3 separate regions of the Homo sapiens genome follow, and all the other regions are linked to region 1. The links are contacts of gene promoters, found by promoter capture Hi-C in blood cells and fetal thymus (Javierre and others, 2016). All regions are on one chromosome and are shown on one strand. Each heading gives the region's core, a stretch centred on a gene start or on the middle of the fragment in contact. The rest is flanking DNA. Distances are from core to core; before and after follow the strand shown.

Region 1 (4,080 bases), core at 446-2,945:
AGAGACAAGCAGGAGGCCAGGGGAATAGATGGGACTGTGGGAACAGCCAAGGGCAGAGGGTGAAGGGCGGCGATCAGAAGGAAAGACGGAATGCCCACACATTCCCTGCCGCTCCCGGCTCCAGCCGTGGAGGAAGCGGGGCTCGGAGGACATTGCACCAGACAGGTCTTGTTTAGAAAATTGGAAAAGAACAAATATTGATTACAAGAGTGCAGGAGAATGGGCCCTTCCATCATCAAAAACAGGTATTCAGCCAGGCGAAGTGACTCACGCTTGTAATCCCAGCACTTTGGGAGGCAAAGGCAGGAGGATCGCTTGGGCCCAAGAGTTTGAGACCAGCCTGGGCAGCATGGTGAAACCCAGTCTCTACAAAAAATACCAAAAATTAGCTGGGTGTGGTGACGTGTCTGTGGTCCCAGCCATTCGGGTGGCTGAGGTGGGAGGATTGCTTGGGCCCGGGAGGTCGAACCATGTTCACACCATGGCATTCCAGCCTGGATGACAGAATGAGACCCTGTTTCTAATAATAACAGTAATAATAATAATAAAATACATACTCACTAGCTATGACTCTGCTTTACAGGATAATTGGGGCAAAAATGTTCTTGGGTGAAACTGGGTAACCTAATTTGAAAGGTCTGGGAAACATGGCCCAATTTCAGCCTCGCTCGCCACTCACAGGCCAAGTGGAGGTTGCGGTTCATAACATACTGGACACTAGACATCACTAATGCCTTCATTCTACAAATGGGAAAACCATGGCTGAGAGGTCACCTGATCTCCCAAGTTCACTCAGAGACGTGGGGATGGGCCGAGCTCCAGAGCCTGGGCCTTGCCCTGCTCCACCCCATACAGCACGAAGTTCCCTGGCCAACTAAGGAAGGAGTGCAAGGTGACTGAAGAAAACAAAAACAAACAGAACTGACACAAAAAACAAACAAACAAAACTGAGTGCCAAAGAAGGAGAATTTGGGGGCTGAGGCTGTGGCTGCAGAGTGGGAGTGGGGATAATCAACGCTGGGCTCCTGAGTGTCTCTGGAAGGGCGGGCCCTGGTGTCCAGAGCGCCTGGTGCCCACCTTCCCCTTTCCCCCAGGGCCCCTGTCTGAGAGCTCTTCTACCCACTCCTGGCTGCTGGGGCACCTGATATTTTCCAAAACACAATTTTCACACCCTTAATAGTGGGCTGCGGAGGAGTCAGGATCAGAGCCTCTAGCTCAGATTTCCTTCCCTGAAAGGATACGGTCTTAGAAACTGCATGCTGTGCAGAGTCCTATCATTCAGAAGAAACACAAAACCCAAGCCCTGGGGAGTCACGTGGCCACCACGGATGCCCCGGCCTCGGACTAAGCTAAGGGCATTAGCCCGGGTGGCCTGTAGCTGCTCTGCAGCTCTGATCAGTCCTACAGACACATGGCACCCCCCACCTGTCACCTTTAGGACCCTCCAGTCAGGCCCCCTTAAGATGCAGTGTTCCCCATGCTCACCTTTGAGGCTTACTCTGCTGCTAAGGAAACAGCATGCAACTTCCCAGGGTTATGAGAAATAATTTTCCTAGGAATGTCACCAGCTGCAGACGCCCCTGTCATAAACTGTCCCAGCTCTAAGCCGCCTAGGGCTTTTATCCCCTCCTCTTAGCTACTCATTACCCAGCTTAATTAGGCCAGGAAATGCTGGCGCTGAAGACACTCTCGGCAGGAGGCAGGGCTGGAGGAGAGATTCTCAGCAGCGCCACTTCCTGAGGCTTGATCTGGGGGCTGGGGAAGGCTGTGGAGGAGGTCGGCTGGGGATGGCAGGCTGCGTCCTCCAGTGAACAGCTGCTGGGAACGAAGCAGGGATGCACGCATTTGCTCCCCAGGCCCTCCAGGGAGCTGAGGGTTGCACTTGTTTACGGTAACAGCACCGGATCTGAAGGCCTTGGAAGGCTCTGCCTGCCCCCACCCCAACCCTCCCATCTCAATTAACCAGCTTCACCACCCCACCCCCACTCTTTCCTAGGGAAGAGGTTGAAACCTCAGTTACCACTCACAATATTTCAGCCCCAACCCTGACATAATCACAGTCAAAGACCCAGCCTGAGATGCCTTCCATTTTCAGCCAGCCCCTGACCTTCACCCTGAACCACCTTGGTCATGCACAACCTCCTGGTTCTTCACTAGGTGGAACACAGGAATGGGGTTGCCTGCTATAGAGCTGTATGTGCTTCACCCAGTTTTGGAGCTTTCTGCTCCAGTGGCGTTGGAAGGGGAGTAGCAATGTTGAGGGTTCATAGAATGGGGTTTATATCAGACAGATGGGGGTCTAGACTGTAGCTCTGCCCCAGGTCATTCTGTGACCTTGAATATGCTATTTCATTTTTCTGCACCTAAGTTTCTTTAGCTGCAAAAATGGGGGTGCTAATATCGGCTTCTTGGGAGGTTGAGATGATCTTATATCCTTATAGTAGACACAGGCAAATGTTCAGTAAGAAGTGGCCGGTATCTCCGATGTGGGGCACTAGTTCAGAGGCCTGCAGTTACCAACTTTTCTTTGCTGGGAGGTATGGAAAGGGGAAAACTAGTATTAATGAGATCCCGCTATCTGTGGAAGGTATTCATACTTACACGATTTTCCTTTCATTTCCCAATTATCTGTGGAGGCTTTGAGATTTAAATGAGTAAACTGAGGCTCGGAGAGGGTAGGAGGGTGAGTCATGCCTCATGAGTGGCAGAGCAGATCATACAACAGGGCTACGGCAGATGCCCAGGGCTGCTGAGTCTGGGACTGCTTCGTGGCCTGGAAATGTCAGAATGACACCAGTCTAGGCCAGGCGCAGTGGCTCAGGTCTGTAGTCCCAGGACTTGGGGAGGCCGAGGTGGGCGGATCACTTGAGGTCAGGAGTTCGAAACCAGCCTGGCCAATATGGTGAAACCCGTCTCTACTAAAAATTCAAAAATTAGCCAGTTGTGTTGTTGGGCGCCTATAGTCCCAGTACTCAGGAGCCTGAGGCACAAGAATCGCTTGGACCCGGAAGGCAGAGGCTGCAGTGAGCTGAGATCAAACCATTGCATTCCAGCCTGGGCGTCAGAGCGAGACTTATCTCAAACAAACAAACAAACAAAAGAATCACACCAGCCTAGAGCGAGTAGGATGACTAGAATCTCAGCAGCCACAGCACCAGGTGGATCATCGCCCTGGAGAGGGGAATATGAGGGCTGAGTCACAGTGTCATCCAAAAAGGACTTGTCAGCCTCTGCAGAGGCTGCCTCTCACCTGCGGAACACGTACCCACTGTGCTGTAAGTCCTGGAGCAATTTGCTTCAGCCTTCTCAGGTGTATGGTTTTATGCCTTGGCTTTTCCATTGTGTCCACATTTTCTCAGAAAATGCAAACTTCTTGAGAAGTGACCTCATTTCCCTCACCTGCAGCAAGACAAACGTAATTCTTGGCACTCAGATATGCAATAGTGCTGTGATTTTAACTTTTCTATGTAACTGTAACTTTGAAAAGTACTCTCCCATTCCACCAAGCAAAAAAAGAAAAAAAAAAAAAAGCCCCAGGGCAGGGGTGGAGGGATTGGGGCGTAAGGGGAACCTCCAATTCCATCCAGAGGAGGGCACTAGTCCATCTGCTCAGGCCCTCCACACATCGAGGTGCTCCTAGGTCCCCAAGAAAATCTCTTGATCCACCCAAAGAATCCCAAACTACTGACCATTGGTTTCCAAGGTCCATGAGTCATGACACTCTTAGACTTACTTAGCTGGTAAGATGCTTCTCATTTGAAAAACACAAAATCAAGAAAGCTCCTGGCTGAGCAGCTAGAGGCATAAGAAACCTTGGAATCCTAAACCATCAGGGTCTCTGGCTTTGTCAGTCTCTGTTGGGATCCTAGATAAGTGAAGTCAGGGGTAAAGAAAATAAATCGGCAGCTTCCCAGGGTGCTGGAAAGGCTGTCAGGCAGAACTTCCTTCCATGTGGCTCCAGGGAGCAGAACTTGGGTAAAGCTTCAGAAAGGCCGCTGTGGGCTTCACATGCAGCTGTTCCTAACCCCTGGGGCTGTCAGGAATTCTGTCTTGCTAAGGAAGGAAGGCCAGGCAGTGCAG
Region 2 (4,080 bases), core at 1-2,500, 310 kb after region 1:
CGAACTCCTGAGCTCAGGCAATCCGCCCGCCTCGGCCTCCCAAAGTGTTAGGATTACAGGCATGAGCCACCACGCCCGGCCATCTTAAGTATTTTATTGTAGTCCTTGGACACCAAGAGAGGGATTCCTAGTTCATAGCAACTCCTCTTAAAATCCTTTCCATCCCTTCTGCTTCCTCCAGTGCCACTCCCATGCCTCTGTCCAAAATGCCCCAGACATCCTTTCCTCCAGCCTCAGCAGGCTGCTGTATCCTTCTCTCTCATTCCCCTTCCTTCTTATCTGATCCCCAGAGTCCAAAAGTTCGAGGATTCTGATTTGAATCCCAAAGTCCAAAAGGTTTAGGAAGGGAAAAAAGTGGAGCAAGCGGGCCGCATGAATCCACTAGTGACGTGCGTCCTCGCCCATCTGTGAGGTGAGTGTTTCTCTGACTACTTTGCAGGGGAGGAAGCCGCAGCCCAAGGAGGTCGTCACTTGCCGGGAAGGTGGCTCGGGCCAGGCTGCACTCAAAACCCGTGCTCTGTCCACACTGCTACGGGGCCAGAGCCAAGGAAGCTTCCACTTCTTCCCCCAGACAGCCCCAACAGCGGCTACCCCAAGGAGCCAGCAGCCTTGTGTCCTGGGATCCCCAGCCCCTGCAGAATGACCCACCAGGATCTGAGGTGAGCTCGGCTGGGGCAGCCTGAGGCCCTGGGCCCTGGGCCTGGCGGAGAGTCGCTGTGGTGATAGCACATCCAGGTTTCTGAAGAACAAGCTGAGTCCTAGGGAAGAGCAAGACCCCTGTCCCCCATATAACATATACACTACATCTACTGTGGCAAATACGTACACACAAGCATCTGTGCACATATATGTTATTGTTCAACATAGTTTAATTGTTTGGGTTCATCTTCTCTAACTACAAAATTAAGTTTACAGTTCTCTTTATCGTCCCAAGTTTCTTCCTTTGTGAAAGGCCCACTATCATCTACTCTTACCACTTCCAGGTAAATCCATCTCCAAATATTTTGTTCACAGTCTGCCTCCCGCCTGAAAGATAAGAAAAGTTGAGTGGGTTCCAAGGAGTCTGAGAAAGCTTTGTTTTCTATTTCCCGTCTTCCAAAGCTCCTATACCCAGCAGGGTGGGGGGCCATGTTATCTAAACTGTGGCTTTACTTTTGGCTGGAACTAGGTCACCTCAAGGGCTGACCGACTTGAAGCCTTCACTGTGGGAAGTGCCTGCTCTCTTATTATGAACAATAGCTGGCATTCCCCCCCAGGCACGGTTTCCATAGTCCTCAGCAACCCTGGAGTGAGTTCGACGGGAATGCAGGCCCAGAGAGGAGAGGTCACAGTCAGGATGCAAACTCAGTTCTGCCTGACCTTCAGTCCGTTTGTGTGAGAACTGCACACGTGGCTCCAGGCCTGCGGAGGAGCCAGAGGACGGGCCGGGGAAGCTTGGGGCAGAGCGGTGCCCTGGTGGCGGCCCATGGGGGCAGAGCTGGGCTCCTCCCAGAAGCCCCTGCAGGTCCCAGCTCCAGGGACTTCCCGGGTTGCAGCAAGATGCCTCACCCGGGTGAGTGCGGCTGTCCTGTCTGGACCAGACCTGGGCCAGGGAGGCTGAAGAGGGTCTCTGGACACCTGTGGGGCTGGGGTTCCCCACTGTCTGTGCCCCTGCCCATTCCTGGCTGCATCCGCTCCCTAACCTGCCCCTCCCTCTGCCTCTCTCCTCCCCCTGTCCTCCCCCTGTCCTAGCATCACAGCCAAACTCATCAATGGAGGTGTAGCAGGGCTCGTGGGGGTGACCTGCGTGTTCCCCATCGACTTGGCCAAGACTCGCCTGCAGAACCAGCATGGGAAAGCCATGTACAAAGGAATGTAGGTGCTGGCAGGCGAGCGTGGAGGGCAGAGGCGCCCGGGGGAGGGATGGGGCCCCCTTCCCTCCAGTCTCCAGGCAGCGCGCGTGAGCCTGGGGGCTGGGGATCTGATCAGCTGGGATGTGCCCGCGGGAGCAGGGCATGGAGGCGGCTGGGAGGCCCGCTGCACACTTACTCCTACTCTGGCCTCTGCTTCCAGGATCGACTGCCTGATGAAGACGGCTCGGGCGGAGGGCTTCTTCGGCATGTACCGAGGTGGGCTTCTCAGGTCCCCTGGGAGGCTGGGCAGCAGGTGTGAGCGTATGGGACATGGGGAACTGGTGTTCCTTCCGTTGCTGCGGGGATGGGGCCAGGGCTGCCAGGGGGTCCTTCCTGATGAGCCTCTGTGCTCTTGGGTGGAGACAGAGGCAGCTCTGGGTCCTGGTAAGGCTTCCGGAGACCCACAGAGCACACCCCCCGCCACCGCCTCAGTAAGAGCAGGCGAGCCCTCCCTACCTGCCTGCCTCTCTCTGCCTGGCTAGAAGCGAAGAGAGAGAGGCTGAAAGGGACTGAGGGACGGGGCCTGAGCTCCTGGCAAGGAGTTCTGGGTGGCTCCTCCCCAGCTCGGTCCAGCGTTGCTGCGGTCCCTGCGGGGTCCCCAGCCAGGAGGTACCTTGGACAATGGATCCCAAGCTGGAGTTGAGCCGGAGCTCGTATGCTTGTGCCGCCGAGAAGCAAAACACAAACCCTAGACAGCCCCGAGCTAGCAGCCAATGGGACTGGCTTGTGCGGCACAGAGGAGCGGAACCCCAGTCCCTGCGCCTGGCGCCTGTCACTGGAACTGCTGTTTTATCATCAGCGACCCCACCAGCAGCAACAAAAATAAAATGGCTTCCTGATAACCAAACTGAGGAGTCCGTAAGAAAAAAATACGTAAAAAGGGGAGAATGTGGGGCCGGGCGCGGTGGCTCACGCCTGTAATCCCAGCACTTTGGGAGGCCGAGGCGGGCGGATCACGAGGTCAGGAGATCGAGACCATCCTGGCTAACACGGTGAAACCCCGTCTCTACTAAAAAATACAAAAAAAATTTAGCCGGGCGTGGTGGCGGGCGCCTGTAGTCCCAGCTACTAGGGAGGCCGAGGCAGGAGAATGGCGCGAACCCGGGAGGCGGAGCTTTCAGTGCGCCGAGATCGCGCCACTGCACTCCAGCCTGGGCGACAGAGCGAGACTCCATCTAAAAAAAAAGGAGAATGTGGTAGGGAGTGGGAATGGAAAGTTATTTCAGTGAATTAGGCTCAGGAGCCCCACCTGGCCCCAAAAATGCCCTTCACTCAGGGACTGGCCTGGCTAGGGCTGAAGGGCAGACCTGGGGCACTGTTATTTCTGGGATGGCCTTGACTCCCCATCTTGTCCTTCACTTCCAGGGGCTGCAGTGAACCTCACTCTGGTCACTCCAGAGAAGGCCATCAAGCTGGCGGCCAACGACTTTTTCCGGCGGCTGCTCATGGAAGATGGGTATGGCCAGGTGGGGTGGGGTTGGATCCTTCACTGTGTGTTTTTTGGGAGAGATGGCAGGAAGAAGATTTCAAATGTGCCTCAGTATACCTGCCTGCATGCATATAAATATGTGCACACATGGCTGAGGGCTGGTGTGTGTTTGGGCTGCTGGAGAGTGAAGGGAGAGAATGAGCTGGTATACTTTGGAAGTGTGACAGATAATATAGAGAACATATAGCATATACAGACAAATCCATCAACTAGCCAATAAATTTTTAAAAATCAGCCACCAAGCTGGCTGCAGTGGCTCATGCCTGTAATCCCAGCACTTTAGGAGGTTGAGGAAGGAGGATCGCTTGGGCCCAGGCGGTCGAGGTTGCAGTGAGCCATGTTGGCTCCACTGCACTTCGGCGTGGGTCACAGAGCGAGACCTCGTCTCAGGAAAAACAAATCAGCCCCCAAACACTTTCTAGCTCTCTCTGTGCCTCACATTGCCCAGTGATGTTCCTGAAGGGATCAAGGACAACGCCTGGTCTGGGTAGTTTTCTCTGTCACTGTTTTCAGCTTCCATGCGGTGCTACCTCCCTAGCAGGCTTTGTTTTAAACTTAGTCCCCTGTCCGTACAGAGACCACACCTAAGGGCTAGCTGATGACTTGACCAGCTGGGTGAGTGGCAGCCACGGGTGCCATCCAGGGAAAGTCCCCCTCTCACAAGAGGGCAGCTGCACCAGGGCAGGCCTGTGGCCTGCG
Region 3 (4,080 bases), core at 964-3,463, 260 kb after region 1:
GCACGGTGGCAGGCACCGGTAATCCCAGCTACTCAGGAGGCTGAGGCAAGAAAATCGCTTGAACCTGGGCAGCAGAGGTTGCAGTGAGCTAAGATTGCATCACTGCACTCCAACCTGTGTGACAGAGTAAGACTCCATCTCAAAAAAAAAAAAAAAAAAAAAAGAATTATATCTAAGACCTCAAATTATGAAACTCTACAAGAAAAAACGTTGGAGAAACCCTCTAGGACATTGATTTCAAGCACAGGCACCCAAAGCAAAAATGGACAAATGGGATCACATCAAGTTAAAAAGCTTCTGCACAGCAAAGGAAACAACCAGCAAAGTGAAGAGACAACCCACAGAATGGGAGAAAACATTTGCAAACTGCCCAGTTGACAAAGGATGAATAACCAGAATGTAGAAGGAGCTGAAATAACTCTTAGGAAAAAGTCTAATAATCGGATATTAAAATGGGCAAAATATTTGAATAGAGATTTCTCAAAAGAAGTCATACAAATGCAGACGAGGCCAGGCATGTTGAGTCATGCTTGTAAGCTCAGCACTTTGGGAGGCCAAGGCTGGCAGATTGTTTTAGCACAGGAGTTCAAGACCAGCCTCGGCAACACGGTAAAACCCCATCTCTACAAAAAATACAAAAATTAACCGAGCATGGTTGTTCATACCTGTAGTGCCAGCTACTTGGGAAGCTGAGATGGGCAGATAGCTTGAGCCTGGGAGGTCCAGGCTCCAGTGAGCTGAGATCATGCCACTGCACTCCATCCTGGGCAATAGAGCGAGACCCTGTCTCAAAAAAATAAAAATAAATTAAAAAACAAGCCAGGTGTGGTGGCTCATGCTTGTAATCCCAGCACTTTGGGAGGCCGAGGCGGGCAGATGACTTGAGATCAGGAGTTCAAGACCAACCTGGCCAACATGGCAAAACCCTGCCTCTACTAAAAATACTAAAATTAGCTAGGCATGGTGGCACACGCCTGTAATCCCAGCTACTCAGGAGGCTGAGGCAGGAGAATTGCTTGAACCTGGGAGACAGAGGTGGCAGTGAGCAGAGATCAAGCCAAGACTTCATTCCAGCCTGGGCAATACAGCAAGATTCTGTCTCAAAAAAAAAAAAAAAAAGCAAACAAGCTTATGAAAAAAGTGCTCAGTATCATTGATCATCAGAGAAATGGAAATCCAAAACTATTATGAGATATCATCTTACACAGTTAAAATGGTTTATACCCAAAGGACAGGCAATAACAAATACTGGTGAGAATGAGAAGAGGAAATCCTCATATACTGTTGGTAGGAACATAAATTAGTCCCCCGCTATGGAGAACAGCTTAGATGTTCCTTAGAAAACTAAAAAGAGAGCTACCATAAAATCTATTAATCCCACTGCTGGGTATACACCCAAAAGAAAGGAAATCAATATATTGAAGAGATAACTACACTCCCATATTTTTTGCAGCTCTGTTCACAATAGCCAAGATTTGGAAGCAACCTAAGTGTCCGTCAGCAAATGAATGGATAAAGAAAATGTGGTACTGATACACAAGGGAGTACTATTCAGCCATAAAAACAGAAAGATGCAGTCGTTTGCAACAACATGGATAGAACTGGAGGTTATTATTTTAAATGAAATAAGACAGGCACAGAAAGACAAACATTGGATATTCTCACTTACTTGTGGGATCTAAAAATCAAAATAATTGAACCCGTGGAGATAGAGGGGAAAAGGATGGTTACCAGAGGCTGGGAACGATAGTGGAGGGTTGGGGAGAGGTAGGATGGTTAATGGGTACAAAAAAAATAGTTATTATGAATGAATATGATCTGGCATTTGATAGCACAGCAGAGAAGTATGGCTTTTTTTTTCTTTTCTTTTCTTTTTTGTTATTTTTGAGACAGAGTCTCACTCTTTTGCCCAGGCTAGAGTGCAGTGGCATGATCTGGTCTCACTGCAACCTCCACTTCTCAGGTTCAAGTGATTACCATGCCTCAGCCTCCCAAGTAGCTGTGATTACAGGTGTACACTACCACACCCGGCTAATTTTTGTATTTTTAGTAGAGATGGGGTTTTGCCGTGTTGGCCAGGCTGGTCTTGAACTCCTGGCCTCAAGTGATCCATCTGCCTCAGCCTCCCAAAGTGCTGGGAATACAAGCGTGAGCACACACCCAGCCAGAAGTACTATTTTCATTCCAGTGGTGAGAAGGTGGAGAGTAGACAAATATTGTGGGATAATAGTGGTGAGTGATCTGAAGTAAAATTAGGCAGGTTTACAGGTAAAGAGTGACATGGCTGGGCGTGGTGGCTCCATCTGTGGTCCCAGCTACTTGGGAGGCTGTGGCAGGAGGACCCCTTGAGCGCAGGAGATCGAGGCTGCAGTGAGCGCTGATTTCCCCTGCTGAACACAGCCTGGGTGATAGAGCAAAACCCTGTCTCAGACAAAAAAGAAAGCCCTCTCTGAAGATTTGACATTTAAATAAAGTGAATGAGGTTGACCCGTGAGTGCCTGAAGCGGAAGGCGCAGTGCAGACAAGAGCAGAGGCACGGAGGCAGGGATATGCAGCAGGAAGTCCAGGGCGAGGCTGCAGCGGAGGGGAGCAAAGCAAGCACAGGAAGGCTGGCTGGAAGTCCCGGCGCGGCTGGAGCGGAGCAGAGCAGAGCAAGCACAGGAAGGCTGGCTGGGCATGAATTGAGTCCTACCAGGTAGCCCAGGGTCGCATTGGGATGGGCTGTGCAGACCTTGTTAGAAGGGTTAAATGGGCTGGGCGCCGTGGCTCACGGTTGTAATCCCAGCACTTTGGAAGGCCGAAGTGGGCGAATCACGAGGTCAGGAGATCAAGACCATCGTGACTAACACGGTGAAACCCCGTCTCTACTAAAAATACAAAAAATTAGCCAGGCGTGGTGGCACATGCCTGTAGTCCCAGCTACTCGGGAGGCTGAGGCGGGAGAATGGCGTGAACCCGGGAGGCGGAGCTTCCAGTGAGCCGAGATCGCCCCACCGCACTCCAGCCTGGGCGACAGAGCAAGATTCCGTCTCAAAAAAAAAAAAAAAGGAAGGATTAAATGAAAACAGGACAGTCTCTGACACACATTTAAAGTCACAAATGATAGTTTTCTTTGTTTGAGACAAAGTCTCGCTCTGCCTCCCATGATAGTTCTTATGGAAGGAATTTTTGTAAGCCATAAGATACTTACAATAACCTTTTCCAGACTTTTTAGTAGCTTCCAACTACAAAAAAAGAGAAATAATCAATTATGTACTAATCAGACACTTTTAAAAATTACAACAGTTTATTCAGAGAAACAAGCTTTGTGTGACATTCTAAGCGGATTTTATTCTGCAGGTCCTTTTAACATAATGAGTAATATTTGTGTTGGGAATGACTGAGAAGAAATTTCATAATGATGTGAAGATCTACCTGTAAATAGTTCCTCTGTCGTATGCTGGTATTTATATTCTAGCATCTCAACAGTGCTGATGGTCACTCATCTTGGAGTTCCCTGAATTTTTTTTTTTTTTCAAAACTCCTGTAATGTTACATTACCCATACTTTTGTTGTTGCTGCTGTTGTTGTTGTTTTGAGACGGAGTGTCGCTCTGTCGCCCAGGCTGGAGTGCAGTGGTGCCGCGCCCGGCACATGACTGCATACTTTCAAGGAGAGGACTCAGAGCTTTTATTTATTTAAAGAAACTTGAAAGGAGGAAAGTGGATTAAGAAAAAAAAAATAAGGCCAGGCGCGGTGGCTCACGCCTGTAATCCCAGCACTTTGGGAGGCTGAGGCAGGCAGATCACGAGGTCAGGAGATTGACACCATCCTGGCCAACATGGTGAAACCCCGTCTCTACTAAAAATACAAAAAAAAAATTAGCCGGGCATGGTGGCGTGCACCTGTAGTCCCAACTACTCGGGAGGCTGAGACAGGAGAATTGCTTGAATTCGGGAGGCAGAGGCTGCAGTGAGCTGAGATCATGCCACTGCATTCCAGCCTGGGCAACAGAGCGAGACTCTGTCCCCCTCAAAAAAGAAAAAAAAAAACAACAGAAGGCAAAAAGTGAAACAGCCAAGTGTCCACCAGTGGATAAAA

The links. Contacts are between HindIII fragments. The CHiCAGO score rates a contact against its expected background, and 5 or more counts as called.
Region 2: a fragment that was not itself captured here is called in contact with the fragment with the promoter of CECR3 in region 1 in 1 of 17 cell types (erythroblasts); the score reaches 5.5 in erythroblasts.
Region 3: a fragment that was not itself captured here is called in contact with the fragment with the promoter of CECR3 in region 1 in 12 of 17 cell types (endothelial precursors, M2 macrophages, M0 macrophages and 9 more); the score reaches 9.7 in endothelial precursors.

Annotation. Positions count from the first base shown.
Region 1 is chr22:17,265,038-17,269,117 of GRCh38, forward strand. It overlaps CECR3 (cat eye syndrome chromosome region, candidate 3), which reads right to left and starts at 1,696. Exons shown (of 3, transcript NR_038398.2): 1 at 1,486-1,696. RefSeq lists an enhancer at 1-145. The HindIII fragment of the contact is 21,393 bases long and covers 1-3,979 here.
Region 2 is chr22:17,579,306-17,583,385 of GRCh38, forward strand. It overlaps SLC25A18 (solute carrier family 25 member 18), which reads left to right. Exons shown (of 11, transcript NM_031481.3): 3 at 440-659; 4 at 1,732-1,854; 5 at 2,053-2,108; 6 at 3,258-3,348. The coding sequence starts at 640. It overlaps LOC101929372 (a long non-coding RNA gene), which reads right to left. Exons shown (of 4, transcript NR_171783.1): 3 at 2,029-2,243; 4 at 850-1,026. Among named protein-coding and RNA genes, the nearest start is that of SLC25A18, 18 kb to the left of the region's middle. The HindIII fragment of the contact is 361 bases long and covers 1,071-1,431 here.
Region 3 is chr22:17,526,668-17,530,747 of GRCh38, forward strand. All of the region lies in intron 9 of CECR2 (CECR2 histone acetyl-lysine reader), which reads left to right. Among named protein-coding and RNA genes, the nearest start is that of SLC25A18, 35 kb to the right of the region's middle. The HindIII fragment of the contact is 2,175 bases long and covers 1,127-3,301 here.